5 separate regions of the Homo sapiens genome follow, and regions 2, 3, 4 and 5 are each linked to region 1. The links are contacts of gene promoters, found by promoter capture Hi-C in blood cells and fetal thymus (Javierre and others, 2016). All regions are on one chromosome and are shown on one strand. The core of a region is centred on a gene start or on the middle of the fragment in contact, and the rest is flanking DNA. Distances in the headings are between cores, read along the strand shown.

Region 1 (2,700 bases), core at 131-2,630:
GTGGGGGCGTTTCACGGTTTGTTTTACAAATTCACCCTCCCTCCCCGACTTCTGGCCAGATTAAGTCCCCGGGGTGGAGAAAGAACTGAGGCACCGAGAGATAAGTGCGATGCCTAGAGAAGATACCAGGCTGGCGCGCCTCCCCCAACCCAATCGCCCACCCCTTACCCTGTGCTGTGCACCCAGCCGGGCCTCGAGGTGAGGGCAGCGGCTTGGAGGGGACAGGCTCAGAACCCAGTCTCTCGCTGTGCTCGCTTTGTCCAGATCCTCCATTCTCTTCTCTACACCCACACCCACATCCAGGTGGAATATGGGGGCCCGCATGCAAATGAAAGACGAGATCCAAAAGGGCTGGTAAATGCATTTCATAAAAATCCCAAATCCATCTTCCCCAGGAGCTCAGGCAGGGCCAGCCGCGCAGGCTGTGTACGTGTTTGTGTGTACGTGTTTTTCGGTGTGTGTTTCAGTCCCAGTGTGTTGGCGCGTGTTCGAGTACAGATACACCGGGGGTGTTTGGGTACCCGCACATGGCTGCGGGTGGGGCGCAGTGGAGAGGAAGCCCACACATGCGTGTGCTGAGATATGGCCGCATCCTTGTGCTCCCCCAGCCCAGACGCAGGGGAGACCAGCACCGAGACACCCGAGCTCGGGAGCCCTTCAGCGGCGGCCGGGCGGAGCTTGGCTCCACGTGGGGCTGGAGAGCACGCAAGCCTGGAGTCTCGGCGCTCGCTTCTCGGCTGCCGCCGGCTTTTGTAGAACCGAGTGGCCGGATGGCAGCTCGCGGGGAGGCTCGGCCACCCGCCCGGCTCGCCCGGGGCGGGGAGAAGAAGGAGAGCTGGAGAGAGAACCGGCCGCGGCGGTCGGAGAGGCGAGCGGAGTGCAAGAGAGGCGAGCGCCCCTGCCCGGCGCCCGGGCGCGCTCTCCGCCTTCCCCGCCCGGCTCGCCTGCTCGCTGGCTCCCTCCCTCTCTCCCTCCCCCTTCCTCCTTGGCCCTGCCTCCTCCCTCGATCCCCGGCTGGATGACTGAGGCATTTCAGACGTGGGCTGAACCAGAGCGAGCGAGCGAGCTCAGGGGCTGCAGCGATCTCTCGATAAGCCACCTAGAGGCGACTCTGTGCGCGCGCGCTCCCCAGTGGCTCCCGCCCGCCCTCTGATCATGTTGACATATTCACAGGACAGGCAGTAGTACCGATGCGGCGCTGCGACGTTACAGTTTCCGACACCTTCTTTTTATAACTCAGCTCTATCCCCCAGCACTCGACCTGTGAAAACCACGCCTATGCAGCAACACAATTGGTCCGAAAGCGTCAAAGAGCCAATCAAGAGGCCTCCGGCTCCCCGCAGCCCACAGCGCAGCCCGACCTTCTAGAGCCGCCGAGCAGACGCCCGGTGAATTCTAGAGGCGGCGGAGGGTGGCGAGGAGCTCTCGCTTTCTCTCGCTCCCTCCCTCTCCGACTCCGTCTCTCTCTCTCTCTCTCTCTCTCCCCTCCCTCTCTTTCCCTCTGTTCCATTTTTTCCCCCTCTAAATCCTCCCTGCCCTGCGCGCCTGGACACAGATTTAGGAAGCGAATTCGCTCACGTTTTAGGACAAGGAAGAGAGAGAGGCACGGGAGAAGAGCCCAGCAAGATTTGGATTGAAACCGAGACACCCTCCGGAGGCTCGGAGCAGAGGAAGGAGGAGGAGGGCGGCGAACGGAAGCCAGTTTGCAATTCAAGTTTTGATAGCGCTGGTAGAAGGGGGTTTAAATCAGATTTTTTTTTTTTTAAAGGAGAGAGACTTTTTCCGCTCTCTCGCTCCCTGTTAAAGCCGGGTCTAGCACAGCTGCAGACGCCACCAGCGAGAAAGAGGGAGAGGAAGACAGATAGGGGGCGGGGGAAGAAGAAAAAGAAAGGTAAAAAGTCTTCTAGGAGAACCTTTCACATTTGCAACAAAAGACCTAGGGGCTGGAGAGAGATTCCTGGGACGCAGGGCTGGAGTGTCTATTTCGAGCTCAGCGGCAGGGCTCGGGCGCGAGTCGAGACCCTGCTCGCTCCTCTCGCTTCTGAAACCGACGTTCAGGAGCGGCTTTTTAAAAACGCAAGGCACAAGGACGGTCACCCGCGCGACTATGTTTGCTGATTTTTCGCCTTGCCCTCTTTAAAAGCGGCCTCCCATTCTCCAAAAGACACTTCCCCTCCTCCCTTTGAAGTGCATTAGTTGTGATTTCTGCCTCCTTTTCTTTTTTCTTTCTTTTTTGTTTTGCTTTTTCCCCCCTTTTGAATTATGTGCTGCTGTTAAACAACAACAAAAAAACAACAAAACACAGCAGCTGCGGACTTGTCCCCGGCTGGAGCCCAGCGCCCCGCCTGGAGTGGATGAGCCTCTCCATGAGAGATCCGGTCATTCCTGGGACAAGCATGGCCTACCATCCGTTCCTACCTCACCGGGCGCCGGACTTCGCCATGAGCGCGGTGCTGGGTCACCAGCCGCCGTTCTTCCCCGCGCTGACGCTGCCTCCCAACGGCGCGGCGGCGCTCTCGCTGCCGGGCGCCCTGGCCAAGCCGATCATGGATCAATTGGTGGGGGCGGCCGAGACCGGCATCCCGTTCTCCTCCCTGGGGCCCCAGGCGCATCTGAGGCCTTTGAAGACCATGGAGCCCGAAGAAGAGGTGGAGGACGACCCCAAGGTGCACCTGGAGGCTAAAGAACTTTGGGATCAGT
Region 2 (2,700 bases), core at 192-2,691, 1.1 Mb before region 1:
AAGGCTTCCTAATTGGTGTTTTCAGTTTCAAGCAATGCTAGTATGTTGCAGAATAATCAGATGTACCCATTCATTTTCCTGCTGCTTTCAAAAATTCTAACTTTTTTATTGAAATATAGGTGATCAGAAAAGTGAAAATGTTCATTGTAAAGCTTGATAAAATTTCACAAACTGAATGTATCCAGATCGAGTTGCTGAACACTAGCGACACCTCAGAACCCCACCTCACGCTCCCTTCTGGACATTAGTAACACCATTCTGACTTCTAACTTGTGCTGGATTTGAAACCATCAGGGCCAATAATATTATAGAGTGGAATGCTAAAATAACATAACTTCTGGTTTGCAGAGCACACTTTTGCAAATACTGGGTCCCAAACCGTGACATTTCACCAAAATACATGAGTTGGCTCTGTCCCAACAAACTTGTTAAAGTGGTCCTGTCCCTTCTCCTAACACTGGCTTCACAAGCTCTGCTCTCTCTTTTTGGTCTTTAACATCAGCTTTCTTTCTTTCTTTTTTTTTTTTTTTAGACAAAGTCTTACTCTGTTGCCCAGAGCAGTGGTGCAATCTCGGCTCACTGCAACGTCCACCTCCTGGGTTCAAGCGATTCTTGTGCCTCAGCCTCTCAAGTAGCTGGGACTACAGGTGAGTGCCACCACGCCCAGGTAATTTTTTGTATTTTTAGTAGAGACAGGGTTTCTCCATATTGGCCAGGCCGGTTTCAAATTCTTGGCCTCAAGTGATCCACCTGCCTTGTCCTCCCAAAGTGCTGGGATTAGAGGTGTGAGCCACCATGCCTGGCCAACATCAGCTTCTGACAGATGAGGAATTTCAAAAATATTCTCAAATGCCAAACGTCTCAGCACTAGATGCAAACCTCTCCATGTGCAGGGTTATGCAAGCATCAGAGAATGGATGGAGATCTTTTACATTTAGTTGATTTAATTAAACGCCTTTACTACCCCCGCACTGTTGCATTTGTCTTGTTTTTAATTTCCAATCTTGAGTCAACTCTGCTCTGCCAAGTTTTGGTAGAGATAGATGCAGAAGGGGTTTTAAATAAAAATTTCCATCTGTCCAGAATCTAGGAAAAATTCTACACAATGTTATATCAAAGGGCACATGAGTTGTGAACTTTCTGGGAGGGTTAGAAAAGCATGGAGAAATGCATTTCCTAGAATCTACCTTCCATCCCAGGCAGGGCTCAGGCCCTGTCCTCAATTCTTAGCCAGAAGCCCTGGGGTTAATCTTCCTAAATGACACTTAACAGGTGGGGCCTCTTGAAATCTCTGTGGCAAGACCTCTGGGTCTATAAATCTGCAATGGGACCAATGCTCTGAATTCTTAATCAAGCCTGTTTCCTTTATTAATCTCCAAGACCGGCAGTGATTTATAAGCAGGGCTTCCATTTGGTCCAGAAAATGAAATTCATTTCACAAACCCGTAAGTGTGGTCCAAATCAATTGACCACGATACTTTCCTATTTCATGCTCTGTGTCACACTGATCTTTTAACTTGATTGTTCTATTACCAAGTATTCACTTAAAAGCCTTTGCTGGGTTTCTGTGCCTCACAAAAATAATATTAGCCCCAGCACAATGATCATTACTGATACCAAGATTGGGCTTTTAGATGACTGCAACTGGAAAGGGATAGTGGTGAGGTGAGAAAAGGAGGAGGTAATGAGACTTGAATCATCTGGTGTCAAGGTTCCTAAATGATGGAGAACTGAGTGATCATGGGAAACCCATTCACAGGCAGGTCTCTGGGCTCCACCCAAACTCTGCCAAATCAGTGTCTCTGGGAATGGGGAAATGATATCTTGAGAATTCTACAGTTGAAACTAAAAATTCTAGGAATACAGGGAGCTTCTCCCTCAGTCTAGAAATACCAGGTTGTTTATTTCTTCAGCAAATGTTTATTGAGCACCTGCTATGTGCCAGGCACTGTGATAGGCATTTGGGATACATCAGGGAATCCGTAGATGGGAATCCGTAGACAGGAATCCCTAGCTTTCTGGACATGGTAACCATTTAGTTGATTGCAGAGAATATAAAAAATAATGATTAACCCTCATCGAATATGCACTAGAATTTCTCATTTAATCCTCACCACAGACATAAGAAGTGGTGCATACTACCACTTTCAGAGATGGGAAAGTTGATACTCAAAAGACTGAATTACCCAATGTCACAGCTGATAAAAGGTGGATCAGAGTTCCCAACCCAGGTCTGCTGAACCAGCCTGCTACAGCCTGCTAGCAATTATACGTCTACACTTGTTTCAGAGGCTAAAGTGAGGATGACATATAATCAAACAGGTCGCTGGTTCTTCTGTGCAAGCCACAAGTAGTTATTGAGCATCTACTATGAGTAGAATCTTTTCTCAAAGGTGGAGACTCAAGGATGAATGAGGTACCATGTCCAGCAGATGAGAGAGACACCTCAAAACACAATACAATGTATGCGACGGAAGTGGCAAGGGAGTTATAGACAGGATGCTCAGGGTGCTTGTGGCTGGGACTCCCAGCTAGATTTGGGGGTAAACTGAGGATTTGTGGAGGAGGTGGAGGAGGGTAAGTTGGACACGTGGGAGCTTGCCAGGCTGGGGGAACAGCATGTACAATAAGGACATGCATGTACAGGAGGCCCCTGGTTCTCAGCCTGGCTGGAGGTGAATGGGGGCTGGGGAAGATGAT
Region 3 (2,700 bases), core at 1-2,500, 1.1 Mb before region 1:
CTTAAGATCATTTTTCTCCGCTGAGGTTTAATGATTGAATGCATTTTGTCTGAAGGAAAAAAAAAGGAGGAAATAAATTTTTTGAAAAAGGTTTATATTTACAGAGAGTGCCTAACGAACTAGTTAACATTCTTACTATCAGGAAAGCCTAAACCATTCATAAATAAACCATTTTAAACCACCTTTACCCACATGCAGCACTCTTTCTTTCAGCTCCCTTTAGCAATTTGAAGTACAGGAGATTAAAGTCCTTTGGAAATTTCCAAGGTCAGACCTCAACTAAAATAGGATTAAGGGGGTAAGGGCGGGGGGGAGACAAAAATGAAGAGAAAGGTCTTATTCCCTTTTCCCCCTTCTCCTAACTATCTGAAATAAATCGGAAGTTATTTCTCGAAATCCTCCTTTCCCCTGGCCAGTGGCAGCTCTTCAAAAGCTTCTGAGACTGTTTAAAATTTTTCCTATCCCTTCCTCCCCCCATTGTAAGAAAAACAAGTAGAGTGAGGAAGGGAAGTTAAAAGGTTGACGTTAGGGTCCCTTCTAGGCAATACTCCAGGGAGCACTGTGACATTAAGAACTTTTGCTGAAAGCAGCTGCTAGTTTGATCATTACTGAAAGAAGAAAAATTCTGCAACATTGCAACCATTTTCTCTTTAGATGTTCCAAACCAGTATTCCAACAAAGGAAATGAAAAAGGGAAACCCACTCTTTCTCCCCTTTTCTTTCTGTGTTCCATATGTAATGTTTAATTTCGGCACCAAGGACATACAGCTTTGAATTAGAAAACACACAAAGATAAAACAGCTCTCCTGCCCACAACTCTGTAAATGTTTCTCTTTCTTTCTTCTTCCCTTCCTTCTCTCCTTCCCTCCCTTCTTTCCTTCCTTTTCTCTTTATCATCCCCCCATAAATGTTTTCCTCTTTCTTTTCCATTTTGCCTTCCTTCAACTTCTCTCTCCCTTGCTTTCTTCCCCCATCTGTCTTTCCTTCTCATTTCTAATTCCTCCCTACACATAAACAACGACAGAAACCACAACATCTTTCAGTCTACCTTGGTTGCATTTGTTCTTGCTCTTAATTTGATCCATTCTTTTACAGTCTTCCTGGACGTTGCTTGCCTTTTTGTTCATCAGATTTCAGCAAGGAGAGCTGTCTCGGTACATTTTGATAGATCTTAACAGTAATTATGTAGGGACTTCAAAGCAAAACTACTTATGTGCGCTCTCTTTTTCTCTATCTTTCTGCATGCGAGCGTGCAAACACACACGCTATCTCAATCCTAACCCCACTAAATCCATACAACAAAAAAATCCTTTTTAAACAGGGCAGAAAATTATGTGGAAATTAGCAGCTGGTATTTCGAATGTATGGTGATTGCAGAAACCTCCCCAAATTTCTGGGGGAAATAATGAAAGGACCCTATAAAGAAATAGTGCTTCTTATTTGACTAGTCTTCATTTAAAATGTTTTCAGTCATGCTTTGAAATTTCAACATTTTAGACTAGGGATCATGAATAACCTGCAATGATAAAAAAAAAAAAAAAAAAAGAGGCTGAGAGATAAATTAAATAGGATCTGCCAACATTGGGTCTGGTGCTGACATACGATTATTCCTAAATTGAATGATTTGGTCCTAGCAAATTTGTGCCTTTGAATAGGCCATTTTATGGCAAAGTACAAATATTTTAAAGAAGAGTTTTACGTATTAAATATTAAAAAACTAGACACAATTCTAGTTTTGTGTCTGCCTTTAAATAATCAGAGTTGGGCCATCAGGTTTCAAGGAAAAAACATTCATTCAATGAAATAATGAATAGCAAAGCTGGATGTTTCATTGACGAAATGTTTTCCAGGGATTTTGACTTTATTATAAATGAGGTTTTATCTCAGGAACTAAAAATACTAGAAAGGAAGGAAATCAACGAAGGGGCTGAAAATACTAGGAAATATTAACCAAGTCCTCCCCTTGAAGAAAGATCTGGAATTTGTAGATGCCTCTGAAAGTCTGAGCAAAGTACAAACAAAAGAAACTATTAGAATCCCAAAGACTTGTTCAGTGTAGAAAGCTTATACACATCCGACTAGTGAATGTGTCTTCTTCAGGGTGGGTGCTTTTGAGGATAACAGATCAAAACATGCACGTGTATATATGCAATGTGTATTACTTTTCATATATTTGTCAAAATTTACGTAGATGGCCATCTAGGAAAACTCCTACATGGTGCAGTTGGAAAGAGAGTATTTGATTTTTGCATGTTATCGACATACTTCCTGAGAATATTACAAATAAAAACATGTCATCCGTTCTTCTAAAGAAAGACATCTTTCTTCTCTCTATTGATTTTGGCAAATTTACTGTCTAATTTGAAACCTGAAGTAATAGAGGCAAAATAAACCCTAAAGAAGGACATCTAACTATGGGATTTTCCATTTTCTCTCTAAGAGATGGCACAGTTATTTAAAAAGGAGAACTCCCAGTGTTTCCTCTGGTTTTAAAGGACAACAAAAAATGTAATAGCCTGGAAAAAAGAAATGAGTCCATTTGATCTTAAGTAGAAATGCTTATTTTCATGGGAAACGCCTATCAACCTGATCTTGAAATATACCTGAATGAGCTGAATTCTTGCTCCTTTGGCAGCGCACTCATTCATTTCAGTTTCTTCTATTTTATTTTATTTTATTTTTTGCCTTTGTTCTGTTATG
Region 4 (2,700 bases), core at 60-2,559, 1.1 Mb before region 1:
GTAGAGGGAAACTTTGGGCTTATATAATGGAAACACCCAAAGGTATCTGGCTTCAGGCACCGTAGAATCCAGGGGCTCAGACATTTATCACATAACCACACTAAGTATCTGACGTGATCAGATAGAGCACTTGAGTGGTGGGGTGGAGACTAGACTGGAACATGAATGGAAGCTGGAAGGCCAGTTTTGGGGAAAGGACATTGCAATAGTCCAGGCATAGGAGCGTGGTAGCTTGGATTAAGTGGATGAGGGGGAAGTGAGTGGATGTCAGAAATGAAGTAGATGGCAAAGACTTGGGATAGAGCATGTGAGGGCTAAGGAAGAGGGAGATGTCAAGAATAATTCTTAGGTTTCTGACTTTGACATCTGGATAACTGGCTGAGTTGGGATACCTTATCCAAGAAGGTGGGTATAAAAAAATCTAACTTAAGAGAGGTGGTCCCAAGTGAGTGCTGTTTGTATGGAGTTCTTTCTTTATCCCTTCAGGTTGGGTTTAAGCGGATTCTAATGGTAGGGGATGGAGAAAGCGGAGCCATTTCCCTTTTTAATTTTAGGCCCATGTGATTATGCTGCTGCCAATTCGCCAATGCTGCAAAGATCAAATGGGCAAATTTAGGGAACATCAGCTGCACAACTACTTGGCATCTGCACTTAGGTACATTTCTTTATCTCTCTGAACTTTAAACTCCTAGTTTTAGAAAATGTAGATAACATGTGCCATCTAGTGAAGATTAAAGGTAATATATACATAGATATTTATATGTCCCTAGCACAGAGCCTGGGACAAAGTAGGAACATAATTAACAGCTGACTGGGGGAGCTAAACTGGAGTTGACCAGATCCCATGGCTGCAGTCATTAGGGCCTTTGTAGACCACTCACTTCTTGGAAGAGAGGCAGAACAAAGAGTGTGGACCAAGCAAGGGTGGTTTATAAGTGGGGAGGCAGAGCATAAGAAAATCTTTACTATATGGCAGGACTCTTAACTTTCGATGTATGATGAACCCCTTTTGTAGTTTGGAGAAACTATTTCTAAATGCATAGCATATACATAGAATTACAAAGGATATCAATTATACGATCATGTGCTGCATAAAGACCTTCAGTCAACAATGGACCAAATATACTGTGGAGGTCATCTAATAAGCTAAGGTTAATTTATTATTTAAGAAAGGAGAAATTTAAAAATAAATTTAGCATAGCCTAAGTGTACTGTGTTTATAAGGTCTGCAGTAGAGCACGGTAATATCCTAGGCCTTCACATTCACTCACCACTCACTCACTGACTCACCCAGAGCAACTTCCAGTCCTGCAAGCTCCATTCATGGTAAGCGCCCTATACAGGTATATAAGTTTATATCTCAAAAAAATTTTTTTTATTTTACTTTAAGTTCTGGGGTACATGTGCAGAACGTGCAGTTTTGTTACATAGGTATACACGTGCCATGGTGGTTTGCTGCACCCATCAACCCATCACTACATGAGGTATTTCTCCTAATGCTATCCCTCCCCTAGCCTCCCACCCGCTGACAGGCCCTGGTGTGTGATGTTCCCCTCCCTGTGTCCATGTGTTCTCATTGTTCAACTCCCACTTATGAGTGAGAACATTCAGTGTTTGATTTTCTGTTCTTGTGACAGTTTGCTGAGAATGATGGTTTCCAGCTTCATCCATGTCCTGCAAAGGACATGAACTCATCCTTTTTTATGGCTGCATAGTATTCCATGGTGTATATATGCCACATTTTCTTTGTCCAGTCTAGAACTAGAAATACCATTTGACCCAGCAATCCCATTACTGGGTATATACCCAAAGGATTATAAATCATACGTCTTTTATACTGTAATTTTATTACAGTATAAAATTCCTTTTATTTATTCCTTTTATACTGTAATTTTATTACAGTATAAAAATTCCTTTTCTATGTTTAGATATACAAATACTTCCCTTTTGTGTTACAATTGCCTATAGTATTCAGTACAGTAACATGCTGTACAGGTTTGTAGCCTAGGAGCAATAGGCTATACTCTACAGCCTAGGTGTGTAGTAGGCTGTCCCGTCTAGGTTTGTGTCAGCGTACTCTGTGATGTTTGCACAATGTCACAACTGCCTAGATACATTTTTCAGAACAGATCCCCATCATTAAGCAATGCATGACTATATTTAAATGCTGTAGTAAGATTAAAGAAACCACAATGCCACAACTATAAGTTATAAAAATATGTGTTTTTAAGTTAATTCATCAAGTAACTAGGTCTAGTCTAATTCATCTGATGATTAGGATAACTCAAAATGGTGATGAGCGCACATGTTATTTTGAGGTTTCTCTGACAATTGAAATGCAACATAAAAATATTTATGGTTTCTACGGATGGCAAATTCACAGGGACCATTAATACCATTGTGATTTGCTATCTACCTTCATTATTGATGGAAATGCTAATTTTGGTTAGAGGTTAAGAAAAATAAAGATATAGTTTTTTTGTTTTTTGTTTTTTTGTTTTTTTTTGGTTTTTTTTTGGATAAAAAAAATCACAGAGCCATTGAGTTTCAACCCTGGCCTCTTGTGGTTTTGCAGATCTCAGGTTAAAAACACTTGCTGGAGGGTGAGGGGAGGGCACCTGTCAAAACACTTATCAAAAGTAATTTTGTGACTGTTAGAAAAGCCTTGGAACCATCAAACTCCCATGAAATCAACTGTAT
Region 5 (2,700 bases), core at 71-2,570, 1.1 Mb before region 1:
AGCAGTCAGGATCAGGATTTATTACACATAAGGCAGTAATTCTGTAACTCAGAAGCCACATCCACAAGCCCTGACATTCTAGGCCTTGAACACAGCACTGGGGTCATGTCTCCTTATCTACATCTTTGCTGTGAGGCCTGCTTTATAGGGCCAGTCATAACTTAACATCCCAGTCTACTGAGATTGCATCCTAGGACCTGTGGAACTGTTGGCAAAGAAGTGCTCTCTGTTTAGAAGAGTTGGATCTGAGAGGACATAAGGCTAGAGCTACTATAAGAGCTGCAGAGAGAATTTTCTTGAGGATGAATAAAAATAGGACTCCAAGATAAGGGGGCAGTGGAGGAGGTATCATAATCTAATGATTTCACTTGAGCCCCTGGATCCAGCCATGCCTGAATCCTGTCTGCTCCTAGACTTTTCAGGTAATTGAGCTAATAGGTTCTGCTTTTTTTGCTTAAGCCAGTTTGAGTTGGACTTCTGTTACTTCCACAAAAACAGTTCTGACTAAGGCAGATGGAGAGTAGAATCTATGAAGTGTTCTGATTGAATTTTGCTGGTATTCAGAATTCATCAGTGGAAAAGGTAATGGCATGGAAACCATCACCTTCCCCTTCTGCCATCTCCCCATAATGACTCACCTTCTTGGAACTTCAGTTTGCTCTTCTCTAAATCAAGTGGGTTTTGCTGGGTAGCCCTTAACGTGACTTAAGAAGACACTAAAAGTGGAGGAAGCATTCCTCAAAAGCAGTCAGAAACAACTGGATAAAGTGCATGACAATAGTAGAGTCTGCTGTTGTGCATTGAGCACTTACTCTCTGCCAGGTGTTCTGGCCACGGTCTCACTGAGTCCTAGCAACAACCCTCTGAGGTAGGTACTCCTGCTATCCCCGTTTTACAGATGGTAAAACTGAGGCACAGGGGGTGAAGTAAGTCACCCAAGATCACATTGCTAACAAGCAGTGGAGCCAGGATTTGAACATGAGCCTGCTGAGCCCCCTCCTTGCAAGCTCTGCCTACTTGCCTGGTTTGGGAAGGAGAGTTGGGGAGGGGGATCACATCTCTAAAGTGTTTCCTCAGCTGGTTGTCACCTCTGGAGCTAATGTCAGCTGATGGGTGCTGATATGCATTTAGTGCCCACAGCTAAACAACCTATGGCATCATAACTTAGAAAAGATGCCTGTAAAATAACTGAGTATTGAAAGTCGTTTAAAAAGATACTATTGCAAACAAGAAAGTACTTACAAACAAAGAAGAAGTAAAACCAGGACGATACATAAATGCAAACAAATAACATGGCAGAACTGACATGTCTCTAATGCCTAGTTTAAGGCCTGGACAAAATCTTAAAAATTATCAAGAAGACCATTTGAAATATGGGTTTATAGCCACAATTCCTAAAGATAAATCTTACCTACAGTACATAGCATACTTTGGGACATTAACCAATAATAGAAGCACAGGTCCACAATCCATTGTCTGTAAACCTAAAATCTATAAACCGCTGAAAGTTAAGTTTTTGTGGTAAGTTTGAGATACACTTATTTGGCAATACCTGATCTGAATAGATATGAGGACATTGAGAGTATTTATTCTCTTTAGAGTAACTGATCATATTTGTCTCTTTCTCTGTGTGTGTTTAGAGTGCTAACCCATATCTCCATGGGGATGTTAACTAATATTCAATATACACACCAGCTTCTCTTCCTAAAATCCAAAACAATTCTCATTTCTGAAGCACCTCTGGACCCAAGAGTTTTGAATAAAGGATTGTGGGTTTGCACAAATATATCATTTATAAACTAAGCATATGTGTAGTATGGGTGCATAGTAAAACTATTTCACTGATTGGATATACCATCAAAATGTACAGGTAACAGTTATTGGGGCTCCAGCATAAACAGGAAGTGCTCCATGCTCACAGATCCTCCCAGCTGTAATTTTCCTGCTGTCATGTCATTGCATGCTCTATTAGTATTCCTTTTCTATCCTTGGTGAAATATATTGTGACCATTTTCTTTTTTGTAGAGTCAAAATCGTGCTTTGTTTCCCAGGCTGGAGTGCAGTGGGACAATCATAGCTCACTGCAACTTTGAACTCCTGGGCGCAAGTGATCTTTTGGCCTCAGTCTCCCAAGTAGCTAGGACTATAGGTGTGCACCACCATGCCTGGCTATTTTTTAAATTTTTATTGTTGTAGAGACAGGGTCTTGCTATATTGCCCAAGTTGGTCTCGAACTTCTGGGCTCAAGCGATCCTCCTGCTTCAGCCCCCCAAATTGCTGGGACTACAGGTGTGAGCCACCATGCATAGTGGGTTGAGACCATGCTTTATTTGATGCTTAATATGGGTTTGGTACAAAAGAGGTGTGCAGTAAATGTTGAAAAACACATAAAACAAAGAAGAAAAAAAGGAAAGAAGGAAGGATAAGGAGGAGGGAGGAAGGGAAGGCAAAAAGGAAATGAAAAAGAAGGAAAGAAAAAAAGGAAAAGAATGAAAGTGAAAGGAAAAGGAAACAGATAAGAAAAAGAAAAAGAGGGAAAAAGAAAAAGGAAAGAAAAAGAAAGATGGTGAGTGCTTCGGCTTGCCAGCCCTTTCCCATGTATTCCTGCTAGACTGCCATGTTACTGGCCCCATAATGGGTAACCTCCCAGCTGGGGTGGGTCATTGCAGTGCTCACCATAAAGGAAATAATGTCTTCTAG

Evidence for each region. The method cuts DNA at HindIII sites, captures the fragments that hold promoters and counts their contacts. A CHiCAGO score of 5 or more calls a contact.
Region 2: a contact is called between a fragment that was not itself captured here and the fragment with the promoter of TBX3 in region 1, in 1 of 17 cell types (total B cells). The highest score is 5.4, in total B cells.
Region 3: a contact is called between a fragment that was not itself captured here and the fragment with the promoter of TBX3 in region 1, in 8 of 17 cell types (M2 macrophages, endothelial precursors, M1 macrophages and 5 more). The highest score is 21.9, in M2 macrophages.
Region 4: a contact is called between a fragment that was not itself captured here and the fragment with the promoter of TBX3 in region 1, in 2 of 17 cell types (M0 macrophages and M2 macrophages). The highest score is 7.4, in M0 macrophages.
Region 5: a fragment that was not itself captured here is called in contact with the fragment with the promoter of TBX3 in region 1 in 1 of 17 cell types (M2 macrophages); the score reaches 6.2 in M2 macrophages.

Annotation. Positions count from the first base shown.
Region 1 is chr12:114,682,855-114,685,554 of GRCh38, reverse strand. It overlaps TBX3 (T-box transcription factor 3), which reads left to right and starts at 1,380. Exons shown (of 7, transcript NM_005996.4): 1 at 1,380-2,700. The coding sequence starts at 2,355. The region is part of intron 1 of TBX3-AS1 (TBX3 antisense RNA 1); the gene reads right to left. RefSeq lists a promoter at 869-1,378. The HindIII fragment of the contact is 4,535 bases long and covers 1-2,700 here.
Region 2 is chr12:115,795,564-115,798,263 of GRCh38, reverse strand. No RefSeq gene overlaps it. Among named protein-coding and RNA genes, the nearest start is that of LINC02463, 89 kb to the left of the region's middle. The HindIII fragment of the contact is 2,573 bases long and covers 155-2,700 here.
Region 3 is chr12:115,753,739-115,756,438 of GRCh38, reverse strand. The region is part of intron 1 of LOC105370003 (a long non-coding RNA gene); the gene reads left to right. Among named protein-coding and RNA genes, the nearest start is that of LINC02463, 130 kb to the left of the region's middle. The HindIII fragment of the contact is 1,630 bases long and covers 436-2,065 here.
Region 4 is chr12:115,734,537-115,737,236 of GRCh38, reverse strand. All of the region lies in intron 1 of LOC105370003 (a long non-coding RNA gene), which reads left to right. Among named protein-coding and RNA genes, the nearest start is that of LINC02463, 150 kb to the left of the region's middle. The HindIII fragment of the contact is 5,033 bases long and covers 1-2,700 here.
Region 5 is chr12:115,776,381-115,779,080 of GRCh38, reverse strand. No RefSeq gene overlaps it. Among named protein-coding and RNA genes, the nearest start is that of LINC02463, 110 kb to the left of the region's middle. The HindIII fragment of the contact is 8,845 bases long and covers 1-2,700 here.